2 separate regions of the Homo sapiens genome follow, and region 2 is linked to region 1. Evidence: promoter capture Hi-C in human tissues and cell types (Jung and others, 2019). All regions are on one chromosome and are shown on one strand. The core of a region is centred on a gene start or on the middle of the fragment in contact, and the rest is flanking DNA. Distances in the headings are between cores, read along the strand shown. Region 1 holds the start of SPSB4 (splA/ryanodine receptor domain and SOCS box containing 4). Region 2 has its middle 27 kb from the start of PXYLP1.

Region 1 (7,606 bases), core at 1,701-4,200:
GTGAGGTTCAGAGCTTTGCTTTATCCAAGGGGTTCTGGACCCCTGACTGCAGCAGCTCCCTACTGGACCTTCTGCCCCAGGCATTACTTTGCCTTAGTCCAAGAATCCCACGAATGCTACAGATCTTGGTCTACTCCTGAGAAGTAGAAGGAAAAAGATTTATTGTGCACCGACTACACGACAAGCTACAACCCACAACTGTACTCTAGGGACATTCTTCTGTTCCTGTTTAGAAATGAGAAAGCTAGGACCCAAAGGCTTGGAATTGAGATTTAAGCCCAGAGCTGTCTGACTATGCCCATGCAATACTGTACATTCTTTAGAGCAATACTGTGGCTAGTTTTTCACGGTTGCATTTTTAGACTCACTCTTGGACAGTTAAGAACATCTTGCATTAGTTACCTACTGCTGAATAACAAATTACTCCAACATTTAGCTGATTAAAACAACAAACATTTATTATCTTACAGTTTCCATGCATCAGAAATCTAAGCACAGGTAGTTGGTTTCGGTGATTCACGATCTCTCATGAGGTTGCAGTCAAGGCATCACACAGGGCTGTATTGTCCTATGAAGGGCTCAGCTCGGCGGGGCAGAGATCTGCTCCCAAGTTCACTCATGTGGTTATCGGTAGGTCTCAGTCACTCACCATATGGGCCTCTCTCCACAGTGCCACTGCAGGATATAGCAGCTGGCTTCTCCAGAGAGGTGATCCCAAAAGAGAGCAAGAGTGTATGCTCAAAACAGAAGCCACAGTCTTCTTATAACCTAATATTGGAAGGAACATCCCATTACCTCTGCTGTATTCTGTTAGTGAGAAGCAAGTCAGTAAGTCTAGCCCACACTTTAAGGGAAAGGGTTTACACAAGGGAGTATATACCAGGAGTCAGGGATCACTGGGGGCCATTTAGAAGCTGCTGATCTCAATCTAAAGAATTTTAGTAGCCAGGCTATCCTGGCTTCTCCCCAAATGGCAAGTTGTTTCCCTTGTTATCCAGAGGCTGGAGGATTTGGGGGTCTACAGGGACACAAGGGGGCCCTGTTTTGGCCCACTCCTTTGTGCCTGGGGCATAATCTCATTGGGAAAGGCCAGTGTGGTGAACCTAACTGGAGCCCCCAAGGGAGGGGGGGAGTTGTTTTCTCAAATTGTGGCCACTGCTCCCTCCCTCCCTTATCCTTGAAGCTACTGTGATGCTTCCCAGCACCGAGTGGAAGCAACGGGCATCCTCCACACACACACCCAGCCTGTCAGCCAGATGGGTAGAGAAACCATCAGCATGAACGTCTGCTTTAAACTTTCCTTTGCTTCTGAGCTTCTTTCCACAAATTTTCTTTTCTTGCTCCCCAACCACATCCATAACCCCCACAGTAGCTCACAGTAGAGGTGCTCCAGGAGCTTGTCAATAGGAGGTAGGAAGGAAAGACACCAAGTGTGAATGTAGGTCAGCACTGCCACTTAGGGCAGTTCAAATCACATTCACTGTCCTCAGCATCTATCCTATGCTGGTGCAGGGCATCCAGAGATGTGTGAGGTACCTATACTTGCCCTCCAGGGGGGGCTCACAGTTTTAGGAGGGGCAGACATGCAAACAGACAGTGATGAAACGTTAGAATAAGTACAATAAATACGTGTCAATACACACTTTTGTCACCTCATCATGGTTATCTTGGTTCATAAAGCATCATCTTATGCTTAGACTATTACAGTAGCTGCCAACCTGGTTTCCTCCATCCATCCATCCAGTTGGCTGCTAAGAGGTCTTTCTGGAATGCAAATCCGACAAGGTCACTACCCTGGTTAAAGGCCTCCCAAAGTGATGGGGAAGGTCAAGCTCTTGATACAGTCTCCACCCAAGACCCTAGACACCGTCCATCCCTCCAGTTCCGTCATACCCCCTCTGCTCATAGCACAGGCTCTGTGCTGTGATAGGTAGCTCTCCAGGTGACCATGTTGTACCCCTGCCTCCAGGAGCTAATTCATGTAGACACATTTACTAGGAAACATTCCCAGTTGCCCTTTCCAGTCTGACAAATTCGCCCCAGAACCTCTCTCAAAACGTTTCCTTCATAGAGTTGGATTGTCTTTACTTGTTTTCCATGTCCTTGATGAAATGCGCACTCTGCATCTAGACTCTGTCTGCATCTAGACTCTGTCTGCATCTAGACTCTGCCTGGTACCTGGCACAGAGAGGGATTGGGTTAGCAAATGACTGCGTAATGGACCTAAAGTCAATTCTGGGAGCACAGACGAGGGCCACCAAACCAAGAACTTTCAATTTCCCCAAGGAAGCGCAGATACCAGAAGCACCCTCGAGGCTTCTGTTTTGGCCACGCCCTTTACCCCATCGCTCAGTTCAGGCTCCCAATGAGGCGGCCCACCATCAGCGCTGGTAGAGCAAAGAGACCGACTTCCTGCGCCTCGGGTGGGCGGGGAACGCTCCTTGAGCAGGTGCGGTATGAAATTGGACTTTAAGAGATGAGTTGGAGCCTGATCTCAAAAATAAAGTGTGGACGTGTGTGTCTGAGGAAGGGGGATAATAAACCACCCTTTTTTCCTCCTGGCTGCTATTTCCCACGTGCGTTGAGTAAAGGCACCAAAGCTGCCTAGTGACTGGGTGTCTCCTCCCCGTCAGGGGCACCCACCCTGGCGCTCCAGGAGCGCTTGAATGAATCCGGGAGGACCCGCGCGCAGGAATGAATGCGAGAGCTAGGGAGTGAGCGGGCGAGTGGGCGGGTGAGTGAATGGCGACCGCGCCGCCGCCTTGGCACAGGGGCGCGGGCGCGGGCTCCACTTCCCTCTCCCGCCAGCTGGTGGCCTCGAGAAGGTGGCGGCGCCGGCAGCGGCCCGAGCTGGGACGGCCGGGGCGCGGGATGGTGGGGGAAGGGGCGTTCCCGGCGACCGCGCCTTCCGCGGCTATTGGATTAGTGGCCTTCAGGGATGAGCTCAGCCAGATCGGCTTTCAGCTGCAGCCTCCGGGCCGGCCGGGAAGGCGGGGAGCGGGCGGCGGCGGCGGAGGAGGGGGAGGCGGCGGCGGCTGCAGCATCCAGAGCTGGCCGTGGCGGCCGGCGCGCCCCGCGCACAAAAGCACCCAGCCCCAGGGGAGGGCGATGAACACACCACATCCCGGGCCCGGGCCCCAGCTGCTGCTACCGCTGCGTGCGCTCAGGGCGCTGGGGAAGACGCCCGGCGCGCCGGGGGCCAGCGGCCGAGGCGCGGCCCGTGCGCCCTGAGCGCGGGACTCGTCGCCCTCCGGGTCAGGCGCCAAGCTTCCAAGCGGCTAGAGCGCGGGCCTTGGAGCGCCCCCAGGATCGCTTCAGTAAGGCGCTTCCCCACTCCAGGCCCGACCCCCGGCGCCTGAGCGCCAACTTCGCCAAGAACGCTCCTAACTCCAGGCCATCCTGCAGCGCAGAGGGGGCGCTGCTGCCGGGCATCAGCCGTGAGGACGCGCCCCTGGCCGTGCGGAGAGAGCCGGCATTTGCGGGTCACTCGGGCGCCCCTGAGTGGGCGGCGGCGGCAGCAGACCCCTCTCCAGGGAGTCCAGGACCTGCCAGCGCTGGGGATTCTTCCCGAACAGGCGCTTGCCCTCTCTTTTATGGTAAGTACTCTCCAGCTCCTGGTGAGGGGCGCGCGGGGGCCGGGAGCCGAGATCCGGCTGCACGGACTTTGTGCGGGCCAGCACTCGACACAGCTGGCGCTCCTGACGTCCCAGTCCCTGAGAATTCCTCTCTGCAGGTTGTGGCAGTTCGAGATGGTTGATTTGCGCGCAGCCCTGGGGCGTTTGGGGCCCGGCCTTTGGTATCATGGGTTCTAAGCCCTTTGCTTCTCTGCGTAGCGGACAACGCACAAAAAACTGCCATCCGATTCACCCGCTTTGGTTTGGATCCAGGATCCGTCACTCACTGGCTGAGTGACCTTGGACAGGGCGCCAAACCTGTTTCCTCATCCGTAGGATGGGAATGATAATTGTGCACATTTTATAGGGGTATTGGAAAGATCTATGGGATGGTGTTCGTAGGTAGACATGTGCTGGGCACACAGGAAACACTCAATCATATGTTAGCTAGTATTATTATTAGCTTTGCGAGCCCAAGCTTGTTATCCAACTTTCCGAAGCTGCAGCAGTTCCGTCGTCCGTGTAATGGGGACAATAATTCCTGGGGGTCTGTTCGTCCGGGGTATTCGGAGAGGTGGAAGTAAAGCACGGGTCACGCAATAGGCACCGGTGGCTGTTGTTACCGTTTATTCCTGACTCTGGGGCAGTGAGGCTGGTCGCCTGGCCCGAGAGCGACTCAGGGACCAGTCCTGGCCTTGCTTGAATACAAACTTGTCTATGCTCGGGAAGGGAGGGGGTTGGGAGCTCAGGAAACCCTAGGCGCAGGGCTCTGGGAAGGAGGGAGGGGGTCAGAGACTTGAGCGCGGCAAATGTGTCCGCCCTGGTCGCTCTGTACGCGCCAGGGGCTCCAAGCCAGAAGGGGACGCCGAGCCCCCGACCTCTGACTGGCGGGAGAACCGGGGGAGTGGCTGCTCCCGCCGGCCCATGGCCAAGCGCAGACGGCTGCCGGCAGGAAGGAGAGGAGGGCACTTTTCTGTACCGCTGTCGCGAGAAGGTGGAGAGTTCTCAGTTCTGGAGTCAGGCTTGGGTTCGAATCTGTCTCCACCACCAGCTCGCGGTGTGACCTTGGGCAAGTTCTCTAACCTCCCCCCGCTTGGTTTCCTCTTCTGCGCCCCACTCTCCTCCTTGGGGGGTTGGGGGATGAAGATAGGAGTTCCTTTCTCTCAGACTCTGAGCCCTCTATCCTCCCACCCCCTTTCTGGCCCCCTGCCCCCCACCCGCGCAATTTGATGAGCTTAAGTCTGGAAGACGTAAAATGTGTAAAAGCATGATATAAACATCCTTTACCCAAGGGCATATTCCTCTGAGACACATACCCTCTAATTTATTCCATTTTTAAAAATGGTAATGAAAAGAATTTAAGCCACCTTTGGCAAATCACAAACAAAATTCAACTTACTGGACCTTCTACCCAAATATCTCTCCAGTTTGTATTTCTCGTTTATTTTAAAGATATATTTAATGATATAAAAATAAAATCTGCAAGGAAAAGAAATCACCAGAAACAGTCAAAAGATATATGACAAACTGTCACATATGACATATACCACTCCTATCACAACAGGCTCATCTCTTTAAATATGTAAGAGATTCCTGAGGTCAACAAACAAAAGATCAAATGGGCAAAGACACGATTCATACATGCGAAATAAAATAGAAATGATACCAAAACATATGACAAGATACCTTACCTCAATACGAAAAATGCAAGTTAAAATTACAAGATTTTTTTTTAATGTATCAAATTAGCAAGTAGTCATAACCATTTATCAGAAGCATCTTTTAAAAATGTAGATCACATTTCTCCCTAGCTCAGGACCTCCTTAAGGCTGCCACAGAGTAAAATCTAGATGATCCCAGGGGTCCTCAGGTCTGGTACTGCCCTTCTCCACCTCTTCCTCACCATTTTCCTCTCCCCCACTACCCACCCTCCTAGCCTTCTTCCTTTTACTCCAACACTCCAAAGGCTCATTCACTTGCTGTTCCCCTGCCTAGAATACTTTTCCTCCTAGTTTTTCATACAACTGAAACTTCCTCATCATTTACGTAGAACTGTCCTTGGAAGGGCTTCATTTCTATCCCAGAAAGTGGCCAAGCCACAGTGGCCAGTGCAGAATTCCTTGCCCTTTTGGGGAAAGACCTAGTACAACTCACCATACAGGAGTTACTTAATTTCCCCTGAGCTGCCCGACCTGTTGTCACACATCCATGCTCTAGAAAGGTTTTTTCTCTGTTGATACAGGAGTGAAGGGTCTTGGGCATGAAAATCAGGGGAGTGGCAGGCCGTAGATGGAGGTCACCAGAAGTCTCTGCCTATATATGTACTATATAAGTACATAGTATGTACTCTTGATTTATGTGAACATGACCATCTGTGGTAAGAAAAGATCAACTATAAAAAATTTTTAAACCAGCAACACGTTTTTAATAAAACATGGTTCCTACATAAGCCAACTAATTTATTTGCTGCTGATCAGTTCAAGAAATAGGGATTTGTTTTGAGGCTATAGGAAAAACAGTTGTGGGTGGTGTGCCCTTTGGGAAAGAGGTGGTATACCTCAAACCAGTTATCATGAACTTTGTGTGGAACTTTAGAAGAACTTTCCTAAGCAGTGTTGATTGCATGTGATTTTTGCTTCACACATTGAGTTCAGAACTTACTCCATTTAAAATGTATACGTGTGGTGGTTCATGCCCGTAATCCCAGCACTTTGGGAGGCCGAGGCGGGGGGATCGCAAGGTCAGGAGATCGAGACTATCCTGGCTAACACAGTGAAACCCCGTCTCTACTAAAAATACAAAAAATTAGCCCGGCGTGGCGGCTTGCGCCTGTAGTCCCAGCTGCTGGGGAGGCTGAGGCAGGAGAATGGCATGAACCTGGGACGCAGAGCTTGCAGTGAGCCGAGATGGCACCACTGCACTCCAGCCTGGGCAACAGAGCGAGACTCCGTCTCAAAAAAAAAAAAAAAATGCAAACCATGCAGGAGGTATAGAGTGGCTAGTCCTTCTTCAGTCTGACAAGCACGTCTTAATGCAGCCAGAGGTAACAGGTACAAGGCTGTGTACGAGTATTGGAGATAAAGGCTGGTTGGGCACTGGCTCCATTAAGAAATGCAGATGTGGTGCAAGAGATAGCAGCAGGAATCAACAGCTAAGATGAAGACAAAGTGGGTTGGAGGGCAGAGGGTGCAGTGGGACGTAGGCAAGAGGACATAATGGGGCGGAGGGAAGAGGATGTAGTGGGCTGAGGGGCTGCCACGGAGGGGTGCCCAGTTCTGCTTCTGCTAGAAGGGGCAGGGGAGTGAGAGAATGTCAGCCAGGTCAGAGAAGATGGGAAGAGTCCCAGGATGTGCTGACGAGGAGAGTCTGGCATGACTGGTCTGAGGTGGGCCGTGATGACAGACAGTGTGGAAGAAATAAGAGCAGCCTGGAGGGCCCCTGGGTGCCAAGCAAAGAGGTGCAGCTTCTCTCTGGAGAAGCTGCCTGGAGGGTTGAATGAAGAGATTGGTGGGTGTCTTGGTCCAACTTACCTGTTGGCAGCATGGAGAGTGGGTTGGCGGGCAAACAGTGGAGTCAGGGAAGCCTGCTAAGAGACCAGTGGAGTAATCCAGGCAAGTTCTGAACTAGGGGAAAGCTGACGGGGTTGAGTGGTGGGGACCAAGAGACGGGATCCATGGCAGGAACAGTGACATGCAGAGGAACCTGGCATGTGAGAGAGGGAAGAGGCCAGGCTCAGCCTAGGACCTGCAGATTCCGAGGTGCACATGGACCACAGATGTCCCGCAGGGCTGAGAGTGTGGGTGTGCCCATGGTAGGAGGCTTATGATGGAAAGAGGTCAGCTGGCCTTACAAGGTCATTTGAAACAACACCCAGGCAGGGCTGACCAGGGGCTTCTAGTAGGTAGGTCTTGTGCTGAGGAGAGAAGGCAGCACTGGAGACCCGGCTTGAGAGTGTCTGCACGGGGCTGGAGATGCAGGTCATAAGAGAAGAT
Region 2 (7,606 bases), core at 2,832-5,331, 150 kb after region 1:
GTTCTAGCAAGACAAGAAAGGACTGAGGGATAGGCCACCCAAGGCTCCCTGGAAGAGGGAATATTTAAGCTGCAGTAGAATCTGGATATGAAGAATTCTGCAGCAGACAAGCCAGAGAGAAGAAGGCAGGAGCAGGAGGTCGGGCTACTCTGGGACCAGGAACTTCACTCATATAAGGAGGAGCCCATGAAAACATTCAAACAGGGACATGATGCAGATATTGTATACAGCACCTTCACTTGACTTCTCTGTGTGGGTTGGCTGGGACAAAGAATGACTAGATTTGGTCAAATGCACAAATAATTTAAGGCAACAATCTCTGAAACAAGTATTGAGTAGGAATAGCAAAGGGTCTGTCTCCTGGCCCTGGCAATTTTACTCAGAATCTGCTGGGCCTGCTACTACTCTGTGCAGGGTTGCAGTTGCCCCATCAGAGCCAACCGAGCTAGCTCCTCCTCGCTGCTGTACAGGGGGCGTGGCAGCTTCTCCTTCCACTGGGAGTCAGCCAGACATGATGCAGGGGCTGATCCCAGACCTGCTGAGCATCAGGATTACCTGGGAGACCCAGGTACTTATAAAACAAACAAACAAACACACAAAACAAAAACTCCCAGCTCTAGCCCAAAACAACTGAAGCCAAATCTATAGGGTTTGGCCTTAGAATCAGAATTTTTAATAGCTCTGCAGGTGATGGAGATGTTTATACAGGTTTAGGATAATTGGTGAGGTGAGAAAGAGCAGCGATTTGGAATCAGACCCAGGGACAATCCCAGGCCCCTTCCTTTTGAGCTGTGCAGCCCTGGGAAAATCATTTCACCTCTCTGAGTCTCAGTGTTTCCAACTATAAAATAGTCATGATAAACTCTCCCCAGAAGGGATGTCAGAGGCTGCCAGCACAGTGCCTGGCACATAATAGGTGCTCAATAGATAAAAAATTAAACCCATGGGTGCCTGGGGCCCTGATTGCCCTTACCTGTGTTACACATACACAGCCTATAGTTGCTAATTAAGTCTCCCCAAGAAGAAATGTCTGGAAGTAACTCTGGGGAAAAACAGGGAAGTCCCCAGGAAGGGAGTGCTGCAGCAGATTCAAAAAACAAAAGCTAAGATTTGGCCTGGAACTTTCCTTGGCTGTGACACCACCCCAGATAGCTGGGCCCTTAGTGGGGCAGAGAAGAATGACCCTGGGGCCTCATGTCCCATTTAGGGACTCTTCCTCCCTCCATCCAGCCCCCAGACACCCTCCTTTTTTTTGTTTAAGGCAAGCCAGATCTAGCACCCAGGAGAGCTGCTGGCATTCAGCAGCCTCTGAACACCATGGCCCAGAGGTCTATTGGCTATGGGGTGATAGTTTTTGATGACCTGAATCACTGCCCTGAGATAAAGTCATGAGGTAGGAAGGACAAGATTTGATCTTTGACTGGGTATGAAGAGATATAAGGGAGTCAAAGGAGAGTCCTGGTTTCTGGTCTAAACAAGAGGTGAACCAAAAATGGGCAAAGAAGGAGAAACGGTTCGTTTCACTGGGATAGGACATGCAGGAGGAGGAAGGTTTGTGGCAGGGAGAGAGCATGCATTTATTTGGGCAGGTGGAAGAGAGTTACATCGGGATTAATTTCAGCTCCTGGTAACAGACCCAACACACAGGGGTATTCCGTTTTGTTTGTTTGTTTTTCTTCTCTCATAAAAGAAGTCCAGATAAGCATCCATGGCAGATCTTGAGGCTCTACTAAGTTATCGAGGATCCAGACTGCTCCCGTCTTTTTGCTCCTCTACATGTGACTGTCATCCTTAAAAATCTTCTTGTGATCCAAGATGGCAGTGAAGTCAGGCATTACACCTCATTCCAGACGGTGAAAAGGAGAAAGGGGGAGAGGGACAAGGATGTGACTCCAAGTTAACTGAGCTTCTTTGAAGGAGCCTAGAAGTCCCGCATGACACTTTCACTTCTCAATGGCTAGAACTAGGTCACATGACCACAACCACTTGCAAGGAAGGCTAGGAAATACCTTTATTGTGGACAGCCATTTGCCCATATTTAGAAATATCAGGAATCTGTTACCAGGTAAAAGGGGAGGATAGCTGCAGGAATGCAACCGGCAGTCTCTGCTATAATCTGAGGAGAGCAAAGATCACCTGGTTACCATCAAGCAGGCTATCCAGAGGCAAAACACGTTATCTGAGGAATTCAGAAGTAATTAGGCCTTCTTATTATCTAAAGCAGGCATCTGTTCCAGGTTTCTTTCCCAAAATATTATAAGTAACTAGAATTTCTGCACATCTCTGCAATTCATGCATATGGAAACTCATTGTGCAACCCTTGCTGATATTAAGGCACCAAAATGTCTACAAATATAATCATTTATGACCTACATGGCTTATGTTTCATTATGTAGATTCCTCTCGTGCCATCTCCAGGCTTTTAGGTCCAGAGTTGTGTTGATGAAAAAGCCAAACTTTGTGAAATATCTGAAGAGATTTATTCTGATCCAAATGTGAGGACCATGACCTGTGACACAGCATCAGGAGGTCCTGAGAACATATGCCCAAGGTGGATGGGTTACAGCTTGATTTTATATGTTTTAGGGAGACATAAGGCATCAATCAATATATGTAATGTACACATTTGTTTGGTCCTGAAAGGTGGGAAAATTCAAAATGGGTGAGGGAGTGATTTTCTTATTGGCAATTGCTTGAAAGAATTAAGTTTTTATCTAAAGACCTGGAATCAATAGAAAGAAGTATCCAGGCTAGAATAAGGGCTTGTAGAGACCAAGGTTCTTATTATGTAGATGAAGTCTCACAGGTGGCCACTCTTAGAGGCAATAGATGGCAAATGTTTTCTATTCAGACCTTTAAAAATGTGCTAGACTCTCAGCTAATTTCTTTAGGATCAGAAAAAGACCTGGAAAGGGAAAGAGATTCTCTACAGAATATAAATTTCTCCCTTGGCAGGGCAATTTAAGAGTATCTCAAAGAAATATATTTTGGGGTAAAATATTTTTATTTCTTTCAGGGCCTGCTATCTGTTATGTGATGCTATACTAGAGTCGGATTGGAATTTGGTAACTTACTGCTATAAACAGTCTGTTTTCTCCCTCTTAAGATCTCTGTTTTCACGTTAATGATGGTCAGTTGTGCCTGAGTTCCAAAGGGAGGAGAGTATAATGAGGCATGTCTGACCTCCCCACCTTCCCATCATGGCGTGAACTAGTCTTTCAGGTTTCCCTGGACTCCCCCTAGCTAAGAGGAGGTGTCTATTCATTGGTTGCGAGGCTTAGAATTTTATTTTTGGTTTACAGTTGTCTCTAGTGATCAACTCCTGTCCCTCCTGGTAGACAGGAGAGGTGGGACACTTTTACAAATCTATTTCCTACTTTTAGATAAATAGAGGGCAGAGGTCTTTCCATGTATCTGTTTCTTCTCAATTGTCTTCAGCAGGGTGAGGGACAGGTGTGGTGATAATGAAGGAGGGAGGGACTGTTCCGAGAGTGTGACATGTGGATGTGAGATGCTGCTGGTGGAGTGGGGCTCTGTAATGGGGAGGTCTGCAGTGTGGCTGTGGGTGTGAGTGGCTGAGGCAGAAGACAAATGAAGGCCCTGGCTGTCTGCAGCCCCAGAGGCTAGGATATTGGATGGGTCAGCCTCTGGGCACTGGAGACTCCAGGGTGAGGACAGGACCTGCAGTGAGGAGGGAGGCGGTGAGAGGGAAGTGCCCAGGAGGGTAGGATGTGTCAGCACTGAGCAGGAATGAGGGTGACAGAGCTGTACTGAAGCTGCTGTTAAAGTGAACTAAATATGGTGGCCTGAGAAGGATTCTGTACTCCTATAGTTAAGTCCTTGCGGACGAACTGCAGCCTAGTTTAATAGGTAGACAAGATTGAAAATCTAACTTAGGAGTATGTGCCTGTAACAATAGCTAAGTCTTGGCCAATTCCAGCAGCTGTACTTCAACCATTCAGTCATTGCTGAGCGTTCATACTGTTCAAATAAGGCAAACACCAAGCTGTACCTGTACCTCATTTCTGATTTCTGTATGTCTGTCAGGCCTCTGAGCCCAAGCTAAGCCATCATATCCCCTGTGACCTGCACGTACACATCCAGATGGCCAGTTCCTGCCTTAACTGATGACATTCCACCACAAAAGAAGTGGAAATGGCCTGTTCCTGCCTTAACTGATGACATTATCTTGTGAAGTTCCTTCTGGCTCATCCTGGCTCAAAAGCTCCCCTACTGAGCACCTTGTGACCCCCACTCCTGCCCACCAGAGAACAACCCCCTTTGACTGTAATTTTCCTTTACCTACCCAAATCTTATAAAACGGCCCCACCCCTATCTCCCTTTGCTGACTCTCTTTTCGGACTTAGCCCACCTGCACCCAGGTGATTAAAAGCTTTATTGCTCACACAAAGCCTGTTTGGTGGTCTCCTCACATGGACAAGCACGAAATTTGGTGCTGTGACTCGGATCAGGGGACCTCCCTTGGGAGATCAATCCCCTGTCCTCCTGCTTTTTGCTCTGTGAAAAAGATCCACCTACGACCTCGGGTCCTCAGACCCACCAGCCCAAGGAACATCTCACCAATTTTAAATCAGGTAAGTGGCCTCTTCTTATTCTCTTCTCCAACGTCTCCCACTATCCCTCAACCACTTTCTCCTTTCAATCTTGGCACCACCCTTCAATCTCTCCCTTCTCTTAATTTCAGTTCCTTTCCTTTTCTGGTACAGATGAAGAGAGATGCGTTTTATCCGTGGACCCAAAACTCCGGTGCCGGTCACAGACTCAGGAAGACAGTCTTCCCTTGATGTTTAATCATGGGGGGGAAACCTGCCTGATTATTCACCCACGTTTCAGAGGTGTCTGACCACGCAGGGACACCTGCCTTGGTCCTTCACCCTTAGCAGCAAGTCCTGCTTTTCTGGGGGAGGGGCAAGGACCCCCACCCCTTCTCTCCCTGTCTCTACCCCTTCTCTGCTTTTCTGGGGGGCAAGAAACCCCCAAATCCTTCTCCTTCACCCTTAGTGGCAAGTACCGCTTTTCTAGGGGGCAAGAACCCCCCAACCCCTTCTCTCCATGTCTCTACCCCTTCTCTGCTTTTCTGGGGGCAAGAACCCCCCAATCCCTTATTTCCACACCCCAACCTCTTATCTCTGTGCCCTGATCCCTTATTTCCACACCCCGACCTCTTATCTCTGCACCCCAATCCCTTATTTCTGTGCCCCAACCTCTTATCTCTGCACCCCGATCCCTTATTTCTGTGCCCTGACCCCTTTTCCACTTTTCTGGAGGACAAGAGCCCCCCCACCCCTTCTCTCCGTGTCTCTACTCTCTCTTTTCTCTGGGCTTGCCTCCTTCACTATGGGCAAGCTTCTTCCCCCTTCTTCTCCCTTAGCCTGTGTTCTTAAAAACCTAAAACCTCTTCAACTCACACCTGACCTAAAACCTAAATGCCTTATTTTCTTCTACAATGCTGCTTGACCCCAGTACAAACTCGACAGCGGTTCCAAATAGCCAGAAAACGGCACTTTCAATTTTTCCATCCTACAAGATCTAAATAATTCTTGTCATAAAATAGGCAAACGGTCTGAGGTGCCTGGCATCCAGGCACTCTTTTACACATCAGTCCCTCCCTAGTCTCTGTTCCCAATGCAGCTTGTCCCAAATCTTCCTTCTTTCCCTCCCACCTGTCCCTTCAGTCCCAACCCCAAGTGTCGCTGAGTCCTTCTAATCTTCCTTTTCTACAGACCCATCTGACCTCTCCCCTCCTTGCCAGGCCGAGCTAGGTCCCAATTCTTCCTCAGCCTCCGCTCCTCCATCCTATAATCCTTTAATCACCTTCCCTCCTCACACCTGGTCTGGCTTAGAGTTTCGTTCCGTGACTAGCCCTCCCCAACCTGCCCAGCAATTTCCTCTTAAAAAGGTGGCTGGATCTAAAGGCATAGTCAAGGTTAATTCTCCTTTTCCTTATCCCAAATCAGAGAGTGTTTAGGCTCTTTTTTGTCAAATATAAAAACCCAGCCCAGTTCATGGCTCTTTTGGCAGCAACCCTGAGATGCTTTACAGCCCTAGACCCTGAAAGGTCAAAAGGCCGTCTTATTCTCAATATACATTTTATTACTCAATCTGCTCCCAAAATTAAATAAAACTCCAAAAATTAAATTCCGGCCCTCAAACCCCACAACAGGACTTAATTAACCTCACCTTCAAGGTGTACAATAATAAAGTAGAGGCAGCCAAGTAGCAACATATTTGAGTTGCAATTCCTTGCCTCCACTGTGAGACAAACCCCAGCCACATCTCCAGCACACAAGAACTTCCAAATGCCTAAACCGCAGTGGCCAGGCATTCCTCCAGGCCCGCCTCCCCCAGGAGCTTCCTACAAGTGCCAGAAATCTGGCCATCAGGCCAAGGAATGCCCGCAGCCTGGGATTCCTCCTAAGCCATGTCCCATCTGTGCGGGACCCCACTGAAAATCAGACTGTTCAATTCGTGGGGCAGCCACTCCCAGAGCCCCTGGAACTCTGGCCCAAGGCTCTCTGACTGACTCCTTCCCAAATCTTCTTGGCTTAGCAACTGAAGACTGACGCTGCCCGATCACCTCGGAAGCTCCCTAGACCATCACGGACGCTGAGCTTCGGGTAACTCTCACAGTGGAGGGTAAGTCTGTCCCCTTCTTAATCAATACGGAGGCTACCCACTCCACATTACCTTCTTTTCAAGGGTCTGTTTCCCTTGACTCCATAACTGTTGTGGGTATTGACGGCCAAGCTTCAAAACCCCTGAAAACTCCCCCACTCTTGTGCCAACTTGGACAACACTCTTTTATGCACTCTTTTTTAGTTATCCCCACCTGCCCAGTTTCCTTATTAGGCTGAGATATTTTAACCAAATTATCTGCTTCCCTGACTATTCCTGGACTACAGTCGCATCTCATTGCCGCCCTTCTCCCCAACCCAAAGCCTCCTTTGCGTCTTCCTCTCGTATCCCCCCCACCTTAACCCACAAGTGTAGGACATCTCTACTCCTTCCCTGGCAACCGATCACATGCCCGTTACCATCCCATTAAAACCTAATCACCCTTACCCCACTCAATGCCAATATCCCATCCCACAGCATGCTTTAAAAGGATTAAAGCCTGTTATCACTTGCCTGCTACAGCATGGGCTTCTAAAACCTATAAACTCTCCTTACAATTCCCCCATTTTACCTCTCCAAAACCGGACAAGTCTTACAGGTCAGTTCAGGATCTGCGCCTTATCAACCAAATTGTTTTGCCTATCCACCCTGTGGTGCCCAACCTGTACACTCTTTTTTTCTCAATACCTTCCTCCACAACCCATTATTCTGTTCTGGATCTCAAACATGCTTTCTTTACTATTCCTTTGCACCCTTCATCCCAGCCTCTCTTCGCTTTCACTTAGACTGACCCTGACACCCATCAGGCTCAGCAAATTACCTGGGCTGTACTGCCGCAAGGCTTCACAGATAGCCCCCATTACTTCAGTCAAGCCCAAATTTCTTCCTCATCTGTTACCTGTTTCAGCATAATTCTCATAAAAACACACATGCTCTCCCTGCCGATCGTGTCTGACTGATCTCTCAAACC

What was found. Contacts are between HindIII fragments. The study calls those that stand out against the background at their distance.
Region 2: a contact is called between a fragment that was not itself captured here and the fragment with the promoter of SPSB4 in region 1, in 1 of the 25 tissues and cell types used here (aorta).

Annotation. Positions count from the first base shown.
Region 1 is chr3:141,048,397-141,056,002 of GRCh38, forward strand. It overlaps SPSB4 (splA/ryanodine receptor domain and SOCS box containing 4), which reads left to right and starts at 2,951. Exons shown (of 3, transcript NM_080862.3): 1 at 2,951-3,596. The HindIII fragment of the contact is 7,949 bases long and covers 1-3,679 here.
Region 2 is chr3:141,200,860-141,208,465 of GRCh38, forward strand. No RefSeq gene overlaps it. Among named protein-coding and RNA genes, the nearest start is that of PXYLP1, 27 kb to the right of the region's middle. RefSeq lists enhancers at 3,919-4,429, 5,934-6,435. The HindIII fragment of the contact is 3,972 bases long and covers 2,096-6,067 here.